Regions from separate parts of the Homo sapiens genome. Here all the other regions are linked to region 1. Evidence: promoter capture Hi-C in human tissues and cell types (Jung and others, 2019). All regions are on one chromosome and are shown on one strand. Each heading gives the region's core, a stretch centred on a gene start or on the middle of the fragment in contact. The rest is flanking DNA. Distances are from core to core; before and after follow the strand shown. Region 1 holds the start of RAB36 (RAB36, member RAS oncogene family). Region 2 has its middle 38 kb from the start of LINC02556. Region 3 has its middle 45 kb from the start of IGLL5. Region 4 has its middle 35 kb from the start of LINC01659. Region 5 has its middle 87 kb from the start of IGLL5. Region 6 has its middle 15 kb from the start of IGLL5. Region 7 has its middle 59 kb from the start of GNAZ.

The links. The method cuts DNA at HindIII sites, captures the fragments that hold promoters and counts their contacts. A contact is called where the count stands out against the background at its distance.
Region 2: a contact is called between a fragment that was not itself captured here and the fragment with the promoter of RAB36 in region 1, in 5 of the 25 tissues and cell types used here (dorsolateral prefrontal cortex, liver, mesenchymal stem cells and 2 more).
Region 3: a contact is called between a fragment that was not itself captured here and the fragment with the promoter of RAB36 in region 1, in 4 of the 25 tissues and cell types used here (dorsolateral prefrontal cortex, lymphoblastoid cells, mesendoderm cells and 1 more).
Region 4: a fragment that was not itself captured here is called in contact with the fragment with the promoter of RAB36 in region 1 in 2 of the 25 tissues and cell types used here (lymphoblastoid cells and thymus).
Region 5: a contact is called between a fragment that was not itself captured here and the fragment with the promoter of RAB36 in region 1, in 8 of the 25 tissues and cell types used here (adrenal gland, dorsolateral prefrontal cortex, heart left ventricle and 5 more).
Region 6: a fragment that was not itself captured here is called in contact with the fragment with the promoter of RAB36 in region 1 in 7 of the 25 tissues and cell types used here (IMR-90 fibroblasts, heart left ventricle, heart right ventricle and 4 more).
Region 7: a contact is called between a fragment that was not itself captured here and the fragment with the promoter of RAB36 in region 1, in 1 of the 25 tissues and cell types used here (lymphoblastoid cells).

What each region holds. Positions count from the first base shown.
Region 1 is chr22:23,144,085-23,146,784 of GRCh38, reverse strand. RAB36 (RAB36, member RAS oncogene family) reads right to left here and starts at 1,308. Exons shown (of 11, transcript NM_004914.5): 1 at 1,234-1,308; 2 at 100-180. The coding sequence starts at 168. It also overlaps a transcript of RSPH14 not described here. RefSeq lists a silencer at 1,486-1,555. The HindIII fragment of the contact is 15,551 bases long and covers 1-2,700 here.
Region 2 is chr22:23,363,539-23,366,238 of GRCh38, reverse strand. It overlaps the pseudogene CES5AP1. Among named protein-coding and RNA genes, the nearest start is that of LINC02556, 38 kb to the right of the region's middle. The HindIII fragment of the contact is 9,016 bases long and covers 1-2,700 here.
Region 3 is chr22:22,931,446-22,934,145 of GRCh38, reverse strand. No RefSeq gene overlaps it. Among named protein-coding and RNA genes, the nearest start is that of IGLL5, 45 kb to the right of the region's middle. RefSeq lists an enhancer at 1,972-2,081. The HindIII fragment of the contact is 4,927 bases long and covers 1-2,700 here.
Region 4 is chr22:23,397,591-23,400,290 of GRCh38, reverse strand. It overlaps the pseudogene ZDHHC8BP. Among named protein-coding and RNA genes, the nearest start is that of LINC01659, 35 kb to the left of the region's middle. RefSeq lists enhancers at 1-747, 837-1,391. The HindIII fragment of the contact is 6,507 bases long and covers 1-2,700 here.
Region 5 is chr22:22,973,116-22,975,815 of GRCh38, reverse strand. No RefSeq gene overlaps it. Among named protein-coding and RNA genes, the nearest start is that of IGLL5, 87 kb to the right of the region's middle. The HindIII fragment of the contact is 4,015 bases long and covers 1-2,700 here.
Region 6 is chr22:22,901,305-22,904,004 of GRCh38, reverse strand. It overlaps IGL. Among named protein-coding and RNA genes, the nearest start is that of IGLL5, 15 kb to the right of the region's middle. RefSeq lists an enhancer at 1,589-1,688. The HindIII fragment of the contact is 9,575 bases long and covers 1-2,700 here.
Region 7 is chr22:23,010,488-23,013,187 of GRCh38, reverse strand. No RefSeq gene overlaps it. Among named protein-coding and RNA genes, the nearest start is that of GNAZ, 59 kb to the left of the region's middle. The HindIII fragment of the contact is 5,108 bases long and covers 1-2,700 here.

The DNA.
Region 1 (2,700 bases), core at 59-2,558:
CTTGATTCACCTGCTTTACTTCTAGGCATGAGTGTAGAGTGGGGAGAGCTGATGTGGCTGCAGGGCCAGGAGAGCACTGCAGACGTAATGACTCTCTACCTTAGGGAAGCTGGCGATGACACGGTCGCGGCTCACAGGGGGCCCCAAAGGTGTCAGGGAGGACCTCATTCTTCCACAGTCCTGTGGACCCAACCAGGAGAAAGACAGTTAAGGAGCTGTGCAAATACCTGGGGATTCACCCATGAGTTTCCACCTAACTTTTCATCAGATCCAGGCTGGGTGCAGTGGCTCATGCCTGTAATCCCAGCACTTTGGGAGGCCAAGGTGGGAGGATCACTTGGGCCCAGGAGGTTGAGACCAGCCTGGGCAACAAAGTGAAACCTCAGTCTCTACAAAAAAAAACCAAAAAAATTAGCAGGGCATGGTGGCCTGTGCCTGCAGTCCCAGCTACTTGGGAGGAAGGTGGGAGGAATGCTTGAGCCTGGGAGGTCAAGGGTGCAGTGAACCGTGAAGGTGCCACTGCACTCCAGCCTGGGTGATAGAGTAAGACCTTGTCTCAAGAATTATAAATAAAACCAGATCCAGGCTTCCCTCTCTGTCAGGAATATGGGGCAGAGGCCATTTCTCTCAATCTGCATACAGCAGGCAGCATGGTATGGGGGAACCAGGCCTGCCCCACCCTGCCTGGGAGTCAGAAGACCTGGGTCTCCCCTTGACAGGTGTCTACCAAGGAGGAGCTCCCCTCTGAGCTTACCTTACTGGGCTGTGAGGCATGGCACAGCTCAGGCAGTGGAAGTAGAGTGGGGAGGGGTCTCCTGCTCCCAGTCTGCAAAGGACGAAGGCTCTAGGTGGGCCTGGGGGCCTTAACTTTCAGCCAACTAGGCCTTTTCCCTGAAAACCCTCACTTCACCAGGCCTCTGACTCCTCGAGCCTCCTCAACAGCCCCTCTGTCTCCTTTTTCTGTCCGGACTCCTCTCCAGGCTGGGCTGGGGTGGTCCTGGCGGAGTCCGGTTGTCTTCCCGCATCTGACCTGGCTCTCCTCCACAACCAGCGCGGGCCTGGCCCAGAGTTTGCGCTCCGGAAATGAGGACGCCCCGGGGCCGCAGGCCGCTTTCAAGTTATAGGGGCGGGAAGTGGGCGCGGACGCTGTGCCCTCGCGGCCCTGGCCTCGGGATGTGCCAGCACGGGGTTGGGTGACCGGGAGGGTCGGACAGAGTGGGCGAGCTGACTCACCAGCGATGGCTGTGAAAGCTGGGGCTCCGCGCGGCCTGGTCCGCCTGAGCCAGCGGCGGCGATCACCATGGCAACGAGAGCCACGCGGGACCTGCGGGCTACACGAATCGTCGACGTCGTGGGCGGGGTCTGCGTTGGACTGGCAGCGGCGCGTCCAAGCATCCAGCTTGCACCGGCGATCACCATAGCAACGAGAACCTGCCTGGAGTCTGGGCGGGGCTGGCAGCAGAGAGACTCCTGGACACCCTGGAGAGCCGGAGATCACCATGACAACAAGGGCGGTGCTGGATGGGTGGGCGGTGGGCGGGGCTATGGAGGCCCGGGGGCGGAGCCTGAGCCCTGGGTGGGGCTGACCGTGGAGAGATTCGCGCAGGTTCTGGTGATCAGCTCGGCTGGGAGAGGTTGGGCGGTTATGGCATAAGAGCTCCTGATGTGGTATTGATGTTTAATTGGAGTCAAGCACCCTGCAGCTGCAGAAGATAGACCTGCCTACCATCTACTGACCTTAGTCTGCATAGTTCTGAATCCAGTGCTGTCTGAATATCATATGCCTGGCTTCTAGAGCTCACGGTACAAAATTAATTTCCTTAATAAAAAGCTGACCTGAGTCAGTGATTTCCTCTGAACTAGTTTCGGTTTGGAAAGTTAGCTGTTTTGGGCTAGATGGCCTCTTGTGGCCCTTATAAAACCGTGGAACCAGCTTCGAAGTCCGGGGTTCAGTTTGAGAACCTACTTAATTCAGCTCCTTAACTTTTCTGCATCACAATATGGAAGCCTTGGTACACAGATCTAACTCAGTCATCTTCAATTCAAAGCTAAGTGTGCTGGAGGCTGGTGTTTGATGTCTTTTTTTTTTTTTTTTAAAGAGATGGAGTCTTGCTATGTTGTCCAGGCTGGACTCGAACTCCTAGGCTCAAGGAATCCTCCCGCCTCAGCCTCCCCAGTCCTTGGGACTACAGGCAAGGGCCACCACACCTGGCTCTGTTTAATGTCTTTTAGTGAGTTTCACTGCTAAGGTTGAGGCTTAGGGGGTGAACTTAGGTGAGTTGTTCCACCTTCCGCACCTCAGTTTACTCAACTATAAAATAAACGCAACTATCTATTTCAATGGATCACCTGAGATGGTGAAAGTGCTTTTATACTGTAAAGCTTGATTCAAGTCCATTAACTATTCATTTGTCCTACATGTACTGAAAGCTTCCTGGTATATGCCTAGCACTGGGGAGACAAGGAAAGAGAACGGACATGGTGTCCACCCTCAGGGAAATTGGAGTCCACTGCGGGAAGCAGAGAAGTAAATAGAGAATTAGGGGAAGGGAGTGTGCCAATGGGATTTAGGAGAAGGGAAGATTAAGCTGTGGGGTCACTTACTAATTTGGATTTGGGGATTTGGCAGGAGCTAGAGATCACCCTGAACTCCTCCTTTAGCTGTTTTTTTTTTTTTTTTTTTTTTTTTTTTGAGATGGA
Region 2 (2,700 bases), core at 4-2,503, 220 kb before region 1:
TGTGATGCAGCTCTTGGCTTCAACAGCTGGGCATTTCCACAGGTGACATCCACTGTTGTAAGTGCTGGAGCCCACCAGCCAAGCACACAGTGATCACCTTTCCTCTCTCTGAAAGAGGATAAGCGAGGACCAGGCCAGGCCAGTCACAGCAAGTGTCTGCCTTGCTCCTCATGTGATGAGGTTTAGGGTGGAAGAAACAACTACATAAAAAGGAAAGAGGGGATGGGTCCATTTGGTCTTTGTTCAAAAAATACTATAAATTATTGTTTCCAAAAAATGCAGTTACTACTTCAGAGTTGACATTCAGATAGGTTTGAAAAACTTCAGTCCTTTAAACTTTTCATGTCCAGCCTTGGTTCTAGCATCTTGACATCCAAGAATGCTAAGGTTGTATAAGTTGCAAAATTGTTGAATCATTTTATTTATTCAACAAGTATGTGCTGAGTATTTATTACAGGCTTATAAAAACTGAGCAGTTGGCAGCGAGCGTGGTACCAGCTTTCTGAGCGCTTACACTCTAGTGGGGAGAGACAGAGGAGACACGAGGTTGAGAAGATGATTTCGGAGAGTGATAGATGCTATGAAGGGCACAAGTGGGGAGAGAAGTTATCTTTAGGGAGACAACAGGTGGTTAGGAAAGGCTCCTCTGGGGGAGAGATTGTTGAGCTGAGGCCTGGGTGCCGGGAAAAACCCATGATTTTTTGATTCCATGGTTTAGGAAGACTCTCTTCATTGGAAATAAACTTTTCATCTGTCCTCAGAAGAGTGGAGGCTTCAAATTCCTAATACTGTTGAAGCTCATTTATATAGACTGACCTCATTTTAAGCTGGGGGAAATGGGGTTAAGAAATAAAGAGGTTTGTCAAATTACAAAGCTAGTTGATGGCTGCTAGAACCAGAATCCCGAGTTCATTGGGTTGTGAAAGCATGTTGTACCATTATTAATTTGACCTCCAAGGCAATGTTTTCAAGTGGGACTAGGGATTTTTGTCCTCATGTTGCAGATGAGGCCAGTGAATCACAGTTGATGGCTTAGGTAAGGCCTTTCAGTGATTTCTGGGTGTGTATTAGAAAGAAGAAGGCAGTGCTAGTGATGACAACCACCACTGTAACTACTGTAACCAGTTCCCCAATGCCTTCTAGTGCCAAGCACAGGCAATCCAAGCAGGAACTTGAAAACAGGCATGATTATCCCTATTTTAAAGAAACTGAGGCTCAGAGCAGCTAAAGTGGCTTTCCAGCATCTCCTAGCTAGTAAGGAGACACTGGTGTGTAATTTTTATGCATTTAGGCTCTGTTTTTTATTTTATTTTATTTTATTTTTGAGTCAGAGTCTCACTCTGTTGCCCAGGCTGGAGTGTAGTAGCACAATCTTGGCTCACTGCAACCTCCATCTCCCGGGTTCAAGCGATTCTTCTGCCTCAGCCTCTAGAGTAGCTGGGATTACAGGTGCCTGCCACCACGACTAGCTAATTTTTTTTGTATTTTTAGCAGAGACAGGGTTTCACCATGTTGGCCAGGCTGGTTTTGAACTCCTGACCTCAAGTGATCCACCCACCTTGGCCCCCCAAAGTGCTGAGATTACAGACATGAGCCTGTGCCCAGACTAGGTTCTGCCTTTAAATGCCGAGTTCTCTGCTTACCTGCTGTGTGACATTAGGGAAGTTGCCTACCCTCTCTGAGTCTCCATTCCTTCATCTGTGAAATACGGCTATTCTTAGCACCTACCTCACAGCTATACATCAAACAGTCTGGCATATAGTCAGTCCTCAGTAAATGCTAGATATTGGAGTTATTCAACTGACAGAATTTGCAGAGCTCAAAAGCCTGTGTGGGTGCTGAAATTCCATGTGAATTTGCAGTTAAACCCATTGCTAGCTGTTAGAAACCACAGGAAATCCCCCAGAAACAAATCCCAGCTCCTTAATGTACAAGAAGGTTTTTAGTAGTTAGAATATGCTTGTAGGTAACATGAATGACTCTGAGGTTCCCCTGAGATTCCAGGAGACAGGTATGGCCCTAGTATTCATTTAAGTATTGGCCCTAGTGATTCATTACCCCAAGATTTTCAGCAGAAAACATACCAAGAAAATTTATTTGTCAGGTGGATAGTATTTCTGCTGCCTCACATTTTAAAGCTGTAATTTTGCCAGAAAATGGTAATTTCACAAATATTCACACAAAGCGCTTACTATATACCAAGTACCACTGTAAGAGCTTTACAAATATCAACTCTTTCAGTTCTCATCACCACCCTGGCAGGAGGTACCTGTTGCAAACTCCATCTTACAGATGAGGAGCCTGAGACAGGAAAAGTTGAGTCCCTTGCCAAGTTCTCAGCTGGTGGCCACCAGCCTCACTGCTACTGCCTGACCTCCCACTGTGGCTTCTCAGAGGCCCCACCCGCAAAGGTCGTTAGAAGGAGAACAGCAAATACCAGTTTTGAAATTTTCTGGCTTCTCTTTGAACTTGGTGTCAAAGCCAAGTTGGTGTCTCTTAGGCAGTCAGGGCTACCATAACAAAATACCACAGACTGGGAGGCTTAAATGACAGACATTCATGTTCTCATAGTTCTGGGGGCTGGACTTCTAAGATCAAGGTGCTAATATTGCTTTGTTTGTCTAAACGTTCCTTTCTCATAAGGACATTAGCCAGATTGGATTAGGGCCCACTCTAACGCCGCATTTTAACATAATCTCC
Region 3 (2,700 bases), core at 149-2,648, 210 kb after region 1:
CCCTGCCCCTGCCCCTCTGCAGAGCTCTGGGGCTTGGGGCACTCTGGTCCACTGGCCTGGACCAGCATGAATGTTCATGGCCTTGGTCCACCGTCCAACCCAGAGAACTGTGCACCCTGCAGGGCCCTGCCTTGGGCCTGGCTCCCAGCATCCTCTGCTCATTCCCTCTCCTCCACCGGGTGGTCACTACCTGTGTCCTATGCAGGGCCCAGACCTCTTTTCTCCCTTGTTCCCTGCCCCCCTGGAAGCCTGGTCCATCTTGGAGCCCATCCATGTGGCACAGACTCCAAGGACTTCCTGGGTATTAAGTAGGGTGGCAGGCCAGGTGACGTGGGGGACAGAGTATGGGGCCTTTGAGGTGAGCTTTCAGGGTGCTTCCATGAGGGCCCTTGTGCACTACTGTGGCCCTGTGGGAAGAAGGGATGCTGTGGTCACTCCTATACCTTTGCTCACACTCACCCCTAACACACCCGTCCTCTCTCTGCCCTTCAGTCCTTGATCCAGCTCCTAGGCCTGTTTGAGGTTGCTGCTGCCACCAGGCTACCTTTGATGACCACATGGAATCCCCAGTATCTCCTGCCCCTTGTCTTCTTCAAGCAAGGGGGTCTCATCTGCAATCTGAGCTCTGGGCTGGGCGGGGACAAGTACCCCCCCTTGCTTGCTTTACTTCAGGAACTGGCCTGGGTGGCTGGCATCCTGTGCATGTTGAGGGGACGGTGGTGGGGGATGCCAGTGGATGAGCTGATTGAAGATGGTGCTGGGTCTAGGGCCACCCTGTTCAGCCTCGTGGGTGGGCCTGTGGGGAGGAAGGCAGAGGTGGGGGCACTCATCCCTGGCCTGCCCACCCTACAGTTCGCATCTTATGTGTCAGGTGACATGTGCAATGGCTACGTGTGGCGGGCCTGGCTCCTGGCTTTCCTGGGCCAAGGGAGCTCCAGGCTGGTGTCCTCTAAGAATGAGCTGGTGAAGTCCCACAGGTGGATGGGATTTGCCGTCTGCAGGGGTGAACCCAGGCCCTGAGGCTGGGTACTTGGTCTCCTCCCATACTCTCATCAGAACCTGGAGCCCTGGAATATCCTGGGAACGTTTCCTCCACATGGAGAAAGACAGGGAGGTCTGTAACGGGGGCAGTGGGTAGGATCTGGTCATCGGACAGGGGGCATTAAGCCTCACCACAGTGGCCTGTTCCTCACACCTGTCAACCTCTCTTTGACCTCAGCATCTAGACCCAGCATGGGGAAGACTGGACAGGGAATGGGGCACCCCAAGGCCACAGCCCCCTCCTCCCATGAGAAGGCACACTCCAGGTCTCACCTGGGGGTGGGCTGGGGCAGTCCTGCCTTGCCTGGGACACCATGTGTCAAGAGCCCTGCACAGGCCAGGCCTCGGGGCTTGTGGAAGGATGAGTGTGTGTGTGTGTGTGTGTGTGCGCGCGTGTGTGTGTGTGTGCATGTTCAGATATATGGATGGACAGACACACAAATAAGTGACTGACCAGTCTGAGGTCCTGCCCACTGGGTAGGGACCCCGGAAGTCCTCTTGGCAGCTGTGCTTCCAGGAGCTTCGTTACTGCCTCAGGCTCTGGGCTCCCAGGGAAGCTCTTGGAAGGGTTCTTGTTTCCCTTCCCATCCCCTTACTTGGCCCAGCTCCCTTGAAGGGTCCAAGACCTGGGGGCAGCAGGTGGAGTGTGATCAGCAGGGTCCCATGTCCAGCTCTGGCCAGCCCTGCCCACCCCAGGCCCCTCTGAGCTCCAAGTGTCTGGCTGTGCCCCCCAATTGGGCACAGCTCTGAACCTGGCATTTAGAACGGTTCCTGGGGAGCTGTGAGGAGGGGGTAGGGCCTGCATGAATAGAAGCTTCTGGAGCAGAAGGTGCTACTTCTGATCATTGATTGACCATGATCTCCAGACCCTGTCTAACTCAAGCCTGGGCACGGGGCTTGGGTGTCTTGGTGCGGGGACACAGGACCATTCTCCAGCTGGGCTGGTGGAAGCTTTGGAAACTGAATCGCCCCCCTGCCTCCCACCCTGGGGAGAAGGAGGCACCTGCTGCCAGGGCTGAGGCTTGGTGGGGTTTCCCAGCTATTTCGGGCCTCAGGCACTCTTGGTTTCACCAGGCCAGCTGCACTGGGGTGAGGGTTCCAGGGCCGGTGGGGAGCCCAGCATGGGCAGGGGGCTGGCCTGAGGCTGTCTGGGGCTGGAACAGCCCAAGGATGAAAACAACCAACGGCAGAGACAAACAAAACATCTATTTTCCATCTGATTGTCCCTCCCCCCACCCAGAGAGTCAGTTTCCATTATTATCAACCCAGCTGCACAGAGGGGAAACTGAGGCTGAGCTCGAGCCACTAACTCCAGCCACAGGGGCCTGGCGCTAGTCAGGGCTCCTCAGTCGCTGGCTGCCTCCAGCCCCTGGGACGTCGCCCCCCGTGAGACCCCAGCCAGGTGCTCCCTACCCCCCATCCTCTGCCCTATTTCTCCCCAGCACAAATCCCGCCTCCTACATGACATTGTTCCTTGTCTGTTGACTTGATTTCCCTCTCCCGCAAACATGAGCTGTCTGAACCTGGCTGTGCCTGCCTTAACCCTGCTGGGTTTCCAGGAGCAGCAGGTCCTCAGAAGAGAGCTGAACATGTGACTTCGCTCTGGGCAGCCCCTGAGAAGGGGGCTTACTTACCTGGCCGGTCTGGGGTCTCACCTTC
Region 4 (2,700 bases), core at 1-2,500, 250 kb before region 1:
AATCGCAGCCTGTCCTACAATAATGTGCTCAACCCTGGCTCGCCTGGTGGCCACGCCTGCCTCGCCCATCCAGCAGTTGGCGTGGCCGGATACCACTCACCCTACCTGCACCCTGGGGCAACGGGCGACCCACCATGGCCCCTGCCCCACAGCTTCAGTCCCGTGCTGGGCCCCCGGCCCCAGGAGCCCTCGCCTGTGCTCTACGACATCCTGTCCAGGACCATCATGGCATCCATCCAGGAGCGCAAGGACAGGGAGGAGCGTGAGTGCCTGCTGCGCTCCCAGGCCGACTCACTCTTCGGCGACTCAGGCGTCTATGATGCTCCCAGCTCCTACAGCCTGCAGCAGGCCAGTGTGCTGTCTGAGGGCTTCCGAGGTCCTACGCTGTGCTACAGCTCTACAGATGACCTTGTGGCCAGGCCCGGCTTCGGCGGCGCCTGCAACCCTGTCCTGCAGACATCATTGTCCTCGCTTTCCAGCTCCGTGAGCCGTGCACTGCGGACGTCGTCCTCCTCCCTGCAGGCTGATCAGGTCAGCAGCAACGCCCCGGGGCCCCGGCCCAGTAGTGGCTCACACAGGTCGCCCGCACGCCAGGGCCTGCCCTCCCCGCCCGGCACTCCCCACTCACCATCCTACACAGGCCCCAAAGGTGTCACCTTCATCCAAATGGACCTCCTAGAGCCACCGCCCTCGCTGACCGTGCAGAGGTGGGTGCTGGGAGGTGCGGGTGGGCTTCCTGGCACAGGGCAGCTGTCCAGCCGTCTGCAGGGCCCCTCTTGGCTGGGCACTCATAGGTCATCCCAGGGGCCTGAGTTTTTCTCTGGGGACGGGACAGGGAGGATGCGCCTCACCCTGCATTGAAGGCTTTGGCTAGCCCGTGTGGCCCAGCTCTGAGGATGTCCTGGGCATGCTCTGGGGACAGGGTATGAGAATTTGTGTCCTGATCCCAATGACTTGTTCTTCCAGAGCTGGCACAGACCCAGCACGTAGGAGGCCATGGGGCTTTCTCTTTGGGGTCAGTATCATGTGGCAGCCTGGGCCTCCTTTAGGCTGTGGCTCTGGCATCCTGGGTCACAGTGGCCCTGTCTACCCGGTGCTCTCCCTGGGCCTGCTTTGCTGCATCTCTAGGAGGCTGGGGCTGAGGACATTACCTCGCAGCAGAATGTGCCTCCCTGGGTGGCCGGGCCCTGGCCCTCCCTGTGGGACATAGTTCTGGGAAGCAGGGGCTTCCCTGCTCGTAGTGGGGAAACTGAGGACTGGAGAAAGCAGGCTGGCTCCAGGCACCCAGCAGGTTGGTAACTGAGAGAGCGGGGTCAGCTGGCTTGTAGGCCCAGGCCCAGGTAGGAGAGCTGCACACCTGCTGGGGCCAGGACCCACGCCACGGACGCATGGTGTCCTCACGGCATCTGTCGTCTGTCACCCCGTCTGGGCCTGGAAACCTCAAGCACAGGCTCAGCTGTTTCCTGTCGTCAGATGCGGCCCCAGGGGGAGAGCCCAGCCCCGCCCAGCCCAGCCCAGGCCACTTGGCCACAAAGGGGCTGAGGGCACAGCAGTCCAGCCCTGAGGAGGCCTCCCCTACCCCACAGGGTAGGAGTCTGTTCAGCTTTTGTGGAGTTGGGGAGGAGGCTGCCACTGGGAGTGATGAGTGGGGAGCCCGAGACCTAGAAGTGGGCAGCATTGCAGCCAGGCAGGGATCGCAGCCCGGGGACAAAGGGCTCTCACCTTGAGAAGGTTTAAGCAGCAAGGATAGAGCTGCTGTTGGTCAGCGCTGGTGGGCAGGAGGGCAGCCCCTCGTTTTCCTGAGAGAGAGCAGGAATGAGGCCAGGCAGAGTGGCCGGGCTCCCAGTGCAGAGCAGGGCAGGGGCTCCATTCAGTGCCCACCTGACTGCCCCATGCTCTCTGTGGCCAGTGCTGCCTAGGGACCCAGGGACTTGGGAGGGTGGTGGCAGTTCTGACAACATCTGTCCTGTGATGGCACAGCCGCTCCCCAGGCAGGCTCTGCATCTCCCTCCTACTTTCTGGGTGAACCCTCCGAGCCTAGAGGGCAGGGACTGCCCAGGGCCCCACGACATGGCTACACCAGTCCACGTCTGTGTCGTCTCTGTCCTGTTGCCTCCTCCGTCCTCTGTCCCCGTGTTCGTGTGTTCACCGTGTGCATGCGTGTATGTGCTTGTTTTGATGCAGGGACCACCCTCAGCTGAAGACTCCCCCAGGTAAGCTTAATGGGCAGTCTCTGGGCCTGGCCCGGCTGGGACCTGCCACAGGCCCCCCAGGGCCCTCTGCCAGATCTATGTGGCACACGCTGGTTAAGAAGGTGTCTGGCGTGGGTGGGACCATGTACGAGATCCTGGTGTGAGGACTGACCACCACCCATCCGCCGTGGTGCCACGGGGACCAGGACCCCGCAGCACACCCCCGTTCCCCATCAACTTCTCTGCCCCAGGGACCCAAGGCCACCCCAGCCTGGTGTGGACCCATCGGCGGGAGAGAGTGCCACGCCTCCACAGCTTGCCGCAAGCGCTCTGCCTGCCTGTCCACTCATCTGCCCGTCCACTCATCTGCCCATGGGGAAGTTGGCTCACTGGGCCAAGGGCCACTGGGCTGGTCTGTGTCTGGGCCCATCCCATGGCTGGGGCAGTGAGGGGGCCCAGTCAGTCTCTTTGGGGCACGCTCTCTCAGCCAGGCTTGGCTCACTCCCAT
Region 5 (2,700 bases), core at 130-2,629, 170 kb after region 1:
GATGTATACATGTTATTGATTTAATTTGATTTTAAAATGCAGGCTGAGAGCCTCAGAATGAAAGGACAGATTTTGAGGTTCACTCCATACTTACCACTCCAATGATTCTACCTTCTGTTCTGATCCCAATCCCAGATGAGAACCCCCAACTGAAATGGCTACATTTTCTGGGGTGTATACCCTGGGTTTTGTTGTCTCACACCAAGAAAGAATCGAGGACATGGACACATGTGGGTAGGTTAAGGAGTGGAGAGTTTAATAGGAGAAAGGAGAGAGAAGAGAAGCTCCTTGTGAGAGAGAGATGTCTGAAAAGCGGGAGATAGTGGACCGCAGCAGATTTTATAAGTACGCTGGAGAAGGTGGTGTCTGATTTACATAAGGCTCACAGATTGGTTCAATCAGGTATGATGTTTACATAGCATTGCATAATAAGTAATCTTATGCAACTGAGCTTACCAGTTGCCCGGTGCCATCTTGTCTGCTCTTTACTGTTCACGTGGCTGACAAAGTGAAGGGAATATGGAGCTGTCGTCTTGAACATGTCTAGTCCCTAGTTCCTGCCAGTATTCACCTGTGCAAGCTCCCATCTTGCTTATCTGTGGCTGCAGCTTGAATTTACAGGCTGTTCTTTGTAAGAAAATAATTTGGGGCTGCTTTTTATTAATGAGAAAAGCCTTACCAAGGAGTTCCATACCCTTACTATCTGGGTAAGTGATTTCTTCTTAACTCCTGTATCAATAGCATTTGGGAAGAGCAAATGAAAGCTACGAGACATCACTGCTTTCCCATCAGATTGGCACATGCACAAATTAAACAAGCAGCTGTCAAGGCTGGGGAGAGCTTGGGGAAAAGGGCATGCTCATATGCTGCCAGTGTGAAATGCAGATGTCAACAACCTTTGGGGATTGCCATTTAGCGATAGCTATTAAAATGTAAACATGTCCTTCTGACTCTGCAAGTTCAATTTTGGGAATCCACACCACACAAATGAAAAGCACCAACACAGTAAACAAACAAACCTGGCAACAATCTAAGTGTCAATTAATAGGGAAGAGCTGAATAGTACACGTTTGTATGACAACTATGTAGCTGATTAAAACATGAGCTAGGTCTGTATCTATTGTATTGTATCTATTGTACCTTAGGACTCTAATATATTAAGTTAAAAATCAAGCTGCAGAGTAATGTGTTTGATATAATCCTACTTTTTGTGAAGACAATGCAAAAATTCTACATATGCGTTCGTATGTTTGCATAAGCACTGAGAAAGGGGAGGAAGCTCATGCCTGTAATCCAGAATTTTAGGGGAGCTAAGGCAGGAAAATCACTTGAGTCCAGGAGTTTGAGACTAAACTGGGTAACGTGGTAATACCTGTTTCTACAAAAAATTAAACAAGTATTAGCCAGACGTTATGACATGCACCAGTAGTCCCAACTACTTGGGGGAGCTGACATGGGAGGATCACCTGAGCCCAGGAATTCAAGGCTGCAGTGAGCCGAAATCATGTTATTGCACACTACACTCCAGCCTGGGCAAGAGAGAAAAGACTCTGTAAAAAAAAAAAGAAGAGAGAGAAAGACAAGACAAAAGGAAGGGGAGGAAAGATACACAGCTTCTGGTTACTTCAGAAAGATAGGAATGGATGGGGGAAGAATAGTAACTTATTCTTTAAGGTTTTATGCATTTTTCAGTTCTTACAATGAGCATGCAAAACTTTTGTAGTTAACAATATATGATTCTTTTTTTTTTTAAACAATGTATGATTCTTAAAAAGAACCAGGGGAAAGATAATCTAAAAAAGGAAAGGAATCAGAGCTTTCTGGATCTGCATGCATGTTTTATGACTTCCAGAAAGGAAGGAGCAGCAAGTGTCCTCTGGAAGTGACCAGATGGCTCATTCATCCTTTGCCTTTGGCCAGACATAGACCCAAAGTGTGACCAAGACAAAGTTTTGTGTGGGCTTCCTAATTCAATAACAGCACTAAGGGAAAGATCCCCAAACAGGTGCTCAATCTTCAGAGCCCCTGCCCAGGCCACCCAGAATGATGCTTCTAATAACTGAGGACAATTTTTAAAAATTATGTGAATGATCTGGATAAAAATCTCAGATATAAAGGAGTCCCTTTACATTTGGAATAAAGGGCCTGTATTTTCTCTTCTGATACAAAAGTCTCTTAAAAGAAAGGAGTCCACAGCTCCATTGCTGCAGCTGCCCACTAGAAGCGCAGTGATGCATAAGCCCTCGAGATTGCCCAAAGATTGTACTTCAAAGGGCCACATGTCCCACTGTAAGAAGCCGTGACCCAATAAACACCCCAAAGTAAGGTCACATGGGCATGCAGTCTTCAGCTGAGTAGGGGCCACCCAAAATAAAAACTCCACCATTGGTTAGCAATTAGTGGCATTGTTTTGGTGGCATTGTCACCAGCCACTCCTGCTTGGTGATGCAGGCCAGGCAGAGGCCTCTAATGGTTAATAGCTCAGCTTAGGGGACATAAGTGACAGCAACCTAAACTTTCATACTCACTTGACCTTCCAGTGGAACATAGGCTGTATCTGGCCCTGGATAGTGTGGTTAAGGGACATCTTTTTTTTTTTTTTTTTCCAGATTTCAATAGCTTTAGGGGTATAAGTGGTTTTTGGTTATATGGATGATTTTTAAAATGTTTTTATTATACTTTAAGTTCTAGGGTACATGT
Region 6 (2,700 bases), core at 196-2,695, 240 kb after region 1:
ATTGTTCACCCTGGAAGGATGGCTGGGCCCCGGATCTTCTGTGTGCAAAGTGGCTCCTTCCTAGAGCATGAAGCACACTCCTGGGTGAACAGAGCCCAGCTGCAGACCTCTGACATCACAGACACTCTGCAGCACTCATGAGAAGGAGGTGAACTGAAGCCTCAACCCTCTGCCTTCCTTCCCTTCTGAGGGATGTAGCTATTGACCATCCTATGCAGCTAACATTACTACAAGAGTGGCAGTCTGACATGGGTGACTCTGCTGGTAGCAGCTCCCTGTCCTTGCAAGCTATTTTGCAATGTCCAATCTGAATCAAGTTAATCCCCTTCATGCTAGAATCATTTTCCAGGAAAATAAAAGCTGAGGGAAGCCCTAGGTTCCTGCTCCAGGAGGCGTGGCTGTATAGCAGCCAGGGGAAGTTCTCCAGACAGCTCTCAGCTCCTGCAGCTCCTGCCTTGCCGGGAGGCTCTAGAGCAATTGAGGAAATATTCACCAGTGACAACCAGCCTGATGGCACATGCACCCATCACCATTTGATGTCATATTGCTCCTCATATAAACTTAAACCCCCAAATACCAACAGCACCAACATGTAACTAAGCCAAAGCACTTCTGGTGTTTCTGATGCATTTGAGGAGACCCTGCTTATTTCTCGATATTAGGGAATTAGTGATAATTTCTATTTAGGTTTGGTAGTGATATTATAGTTATTTTAAGGTCCATGTCATTCCAGGACAGTAATGGAGTACTTACAGCTGAACAGATCTGATGTCTTGTATTTCTTTCTAAATGTTGTGTAAGGGAGAATTTATTTTGCTGTGGGTGGGTCGGCATCATCTGTGAATTGCTTATTTTGAGTGCTGGGTGATGAGAACATGGGACACTGTTATTTTTCTGTCTCCTTATTTATATGTTCAGAGTTCTTCATAATATAAACTTATGACACAGCTCAGTCTTTGGACAGCTGCTGGGTGTGAAGTAGACCTTGGCCTTGTACCCAGCAGGCCTACGTAACTGGCCCTCCTTGGGTGGTCTTAGTTTTCTCATTTGTGAAATGGGCTTAGACAGGGACTGTGGCCACTAGAACCTTTTAGCCTTCTTCTAATTCAGAGGCTGGGATTTGGATCAGGGGTGGCTGTGATCAAGCACCAAGGGGCCATTTCTCTGCCTCATTGTGACTGCAGAGCTTCCTGTCTTTGCGGGCTCTGTCCCTGGCCTGTCGGGACCACCCAGCAGCTCTGGTGAACTCAGCTGCCACATTCCTGATGTGCTGGAGGCAGAGACAGGGAGTCTAAGTTTGCGTGGGCACTAAGAACGCACAGTCATCCAGGGCCTCCATAGAGGTTTGGGTAGGAAGGCTCCACCACTGTGACCAAGGGAGGGCGAAGGTCCCAGTGGGCAGGAGGGTCTGGGGGAGCTGAGTGTTCATGGATGCCTGACCTTGCCTGTAGCCCTCTGTCTGCATTCACACAGCCCTGACCCAGCCTGGCCCAGCTCCAACTCTTGTCATGAATTTGACACGGCCTCCTTCACTCCTCGAGCCTGACCCTGAGCCTGTAGCCATCTTATCATACACCCGTAACATCTTTGTTCTTAAATCTCACTTTATGTTTCATAAACTACTTCCATGACATACTAGTATCTTGCAGAATATTATGGGGCTTTTAGAGGTGCCAGATGGATAAATGTGACTTTACATAAGCTAAGCTTTACCACAGGAAATTATTTCCCTAGTAGAGAACTTTTCATTGCCTTTACTTGGCTAACGTGCATTGTCAAGTCTAGGAAATGCACCTGTATGTTTCATTCTCCAAGGCTTCTCAGGACATCCTGGTGGCAGCACAAGTATGGACTCCTTTCCTGCTAAACGGTCTTGTGTGGAATGGGGATTTTCAACTGTGTTCCTGCTGAGACCATGACATTGACTCATAGGTGCTCTTCACCCTTACTTCTGCCTCTAGCCCACATCTGGGCTCCCCAGAGACCCCTTCACTTCTCCTGATTTCCCTCTCCGGACTGTCCTGCATCCTGATGCTGGGCCATGGTATTTCCCAGTTTGGCAAGAGCTACAGCCCACCAGATGCTTGCAGGACAATATGAAACTCTGGATCATGGATTCTCCTGACACAGAGAGCTCACCAGAGTCACTGGCTTGTTGCATAGGGTCAGGGATGCCATGGCAGGGACCTGGCATCTGACCAAGAGCGGACCTATCCCCTGTCCCGGACCAGCAACTCTTTAGCCCAGAGACTGGAGCAGACACAGAAGGCATGCGAGAAGTGCCGTGTGATGCGTGGTTAGGTTTCTGTTGAAAGGCAGAATCTAGGAGAGTGTGACACCCCCCTGGTCCCAGCCAGGCGAGGCTGGTGGCTCAGGGGTACAGTGGAGAGCTGAGGAAGGGGTGTCTGGGTGAGGAAGGCCTTACCTGCAGAGATGCCCAGGGAACTGAGAACCCCTTCACATAGGCAACTTTCCCACTGGGTTCAGGGTTCTTTCCACCACAAATTGAGAACCCAGGAAAGGCTAGGAATTATATGTGAGAAAAGAAAAAATGAGATAAAACAAGATTTCTGATTGACAATGAGAATATTTATTGAGGGTTTATTGAGTGCAGGGAGAAGGGCTTGATGCCTTGGGGTGGGAGGAGAGACCCCTCCCCTGGGATCCTGCAGCTCTAGTCTCCCGTGGTGGGGGGTGAGG
Region 7 (2,700 bases), core at 26-2,525, 130 kb after region 1:
TTCACCATGTTGGCCAGGCTGGTCTCGAACTCCTGACCTCAGGTGATCTGCCCACCTCGGCCTCCCAAAGTGCTGGGATTGCAGGCGTGAGCCACCGTGCCTGACTGGCTTCTATCTCTCTCATAAAGAGTTTTGCTACAAACTGCAGAGATGTTAGGTAGAATGAGTGTTTGGCCTAGCCATTAGATATGGAATTCAGAACAATGTGATTCCCGTTTTTTCTTAGAGGTGCCATCCCCACACTCACCCCAACAGCCACGGGCAGGCATGGTGTGTGGTGGTTCCTCTGCTCACCCCCTCCCCTCCCTGCTTAGGAGCCTGGGCGTGTCTGCTGCATGCGTGTGCCATGTTCAAGGGCTAAGCGAGGCAGCAATGAGCTGCGCACACCTCCCAGTCCCCAGGGAAGCCTCGGGTTAGGGGTCCCATGTAGCCAGATGGCTGGCACCTCCCACTTGGCTGGAAAAAGGATGGGAAAGTGATCTTTTCCTAAAGCCTAACCGTTTCTGGTCAGACCCTTCTCCAAAACTGCACTGTCTGAAATTAGCTGTGTTTTTTTATAGTCTCTGACGCTCAGTTGCTTGTCTGTCACTCAGCCGCTTATACCTTGACACTCAGCTGTTTGTGTTGCTCTGCCTCTGAAGTTTTTTATGGGCACAGGATAGGGGTGGAGCAGGCCAAAAAGGCAATATTTGGGTGGAAAAACAGGGTCAGCTGTTTTCACTTAGAGCTGTGGTTCCAGGGTTAAGGTTGGGGTTTAGCCGAGAGCCCAGTCCTTCTGTATCATCCTCATCTGTGAGACAAAGATGCTGATGGCCCAGGCAGCTCTAGAGCCAAAGGTTCCACCATGGTACCCAGTCATCTTGTTTTACTTCCCAAAGCCTATTAACATGACTGATCCCCAAAGCATAATGTCAGCATTCAAGATGCTGGTATAAACCACAGCTATCAAACCACCTGAACAGGCAAAGAGAGAGAAAGAAAGCCACATTTGACTCACTCTTCTGAAAGTTACTCCCACATCAAGTACTCTGTATACTCCCCACCACACCCCCAGTTCTCCACATTCAGGCGCTTGATCTCTTTAATTCAGTGAGTGACTTATGCTTAGTTTTAGTCCATCCTGTTTTCTCTCTTTAATGTCCTTCATGATCTCTTGTTGGATTCTTATCTTGCCCTTCTGTGTCACAATTTCCTAATTTCCCTTTAATTCCCTTTCTTAAAAATTTTTATCATTATTTTTTAAGACAGGGTGGAGTGCAATGGCATGATCATAGCTCACTGCAGCCTGGATCTCCCAGGCTCAAGCAGTCTTCCCACAGCCTCCTGAGTAGCTGGGACTACAGGTGTGTGTCATCACACCTGGCTAATTTTAAAAATGTTTGTAGAGACAGAGTTTGCCATGGTGCCCACACTGGTCTCAAACTCCTGAGCTCAAAGGATCCTCCTGCCTCAGCCTCCTGAAGTGCTGGGATTATAGGCATGAGCCACTGCACCTGACCTGGAAGCAACAGTTAACAGCCAGCAGAGCTCCCCCTGGCCCAGCTGTGACAACCCAGAATGCCTCCAAACATTACCAAGTGCCCTCTGGGAAGAAAAATCCAATTCCCACTCCTCTGCACTGTGAACCACTGATTGAGGGCATTCTGTGCCTCACTTTGATTCTTTCCCCTTGGTCTCTGGTGAACTGCCAGGGAAACACCCAGCATCTGAGATTTGCACTGTTGCTGGAAAGAAGGAGTGGTGAGAGCTTCCACTCTCAGAACCTAGGCAGTAGCTGCCTAGGACAGAACTGCCCCTACAAAAGATTCCATCTGATCAGGCCTGACCAGGTGGCCCATGGCTGCTGCCTCCCCATCATTTGTCTTCTGTGCTCCCAGTCTTTTACCTGGTGGCCTGCAGTGTCCCTCCCCACCGCAGACATAATCGCTGTTGTCCCTGTCAGACCCCTGGGAGGGACCCAGCCAGCCCAAGCTGATTTCTAGTGGGAGGACACTACTTAGGCCCCCCGTCTCTGTTCTTTTCATTGTTCAGTCTCCTCAGGTCTTAGCAATGTCATTTACAGACTTAGGGTAAGTGCAAAAGCTGGAGACTGCTGCTTCAATGTCTACAAACTCTATAAAGAGTTTTTCTACAAACTGCAGAGATGTTAGGTAGAATGACATCTCTGTCATTCACAGAGATAGACTTCTCTATCTTTAGGTAGAATGACTTCTCTGTCATCCACTAAGTAGAGTGTGCCAATGTAAGTACTTGTGTGGTTAGAGTAACCTCACCTGAGATGGTATGAATGCCAGCAATTTTCAGCGAGATTGTGATCAGTTAAACACCCATTTCCTAAACTATCTTCATGAACACGGCAGAAGAGCAAACCTCCAACTGAAATGAATACGGAGTCAGCAGGCTGCACTTTCACTTCCAACTGAATCCACAGTGATTCCACAAAGACACTGACCTTAGAAGCCATCTACCAGAGGTGGTATCTGAATAGCACTACATCACCAGTGGACACTGGGTAAGGTTCATCCGTTTTGTTGAGCATAGGCTTGTGCCCCATGAGTTCAGCCAAGGTTAGTACTTTTAGGGCTTGAGTTAACCCCATTCTTCCAGTGGCACAACTTAGCCTCTTCCACTCTGGAGCTTCAGAGAGGGAATTAGTTCAGAGAGTTAGTTGTTTTTACAGTTCCACCACTGGAAAAAGGG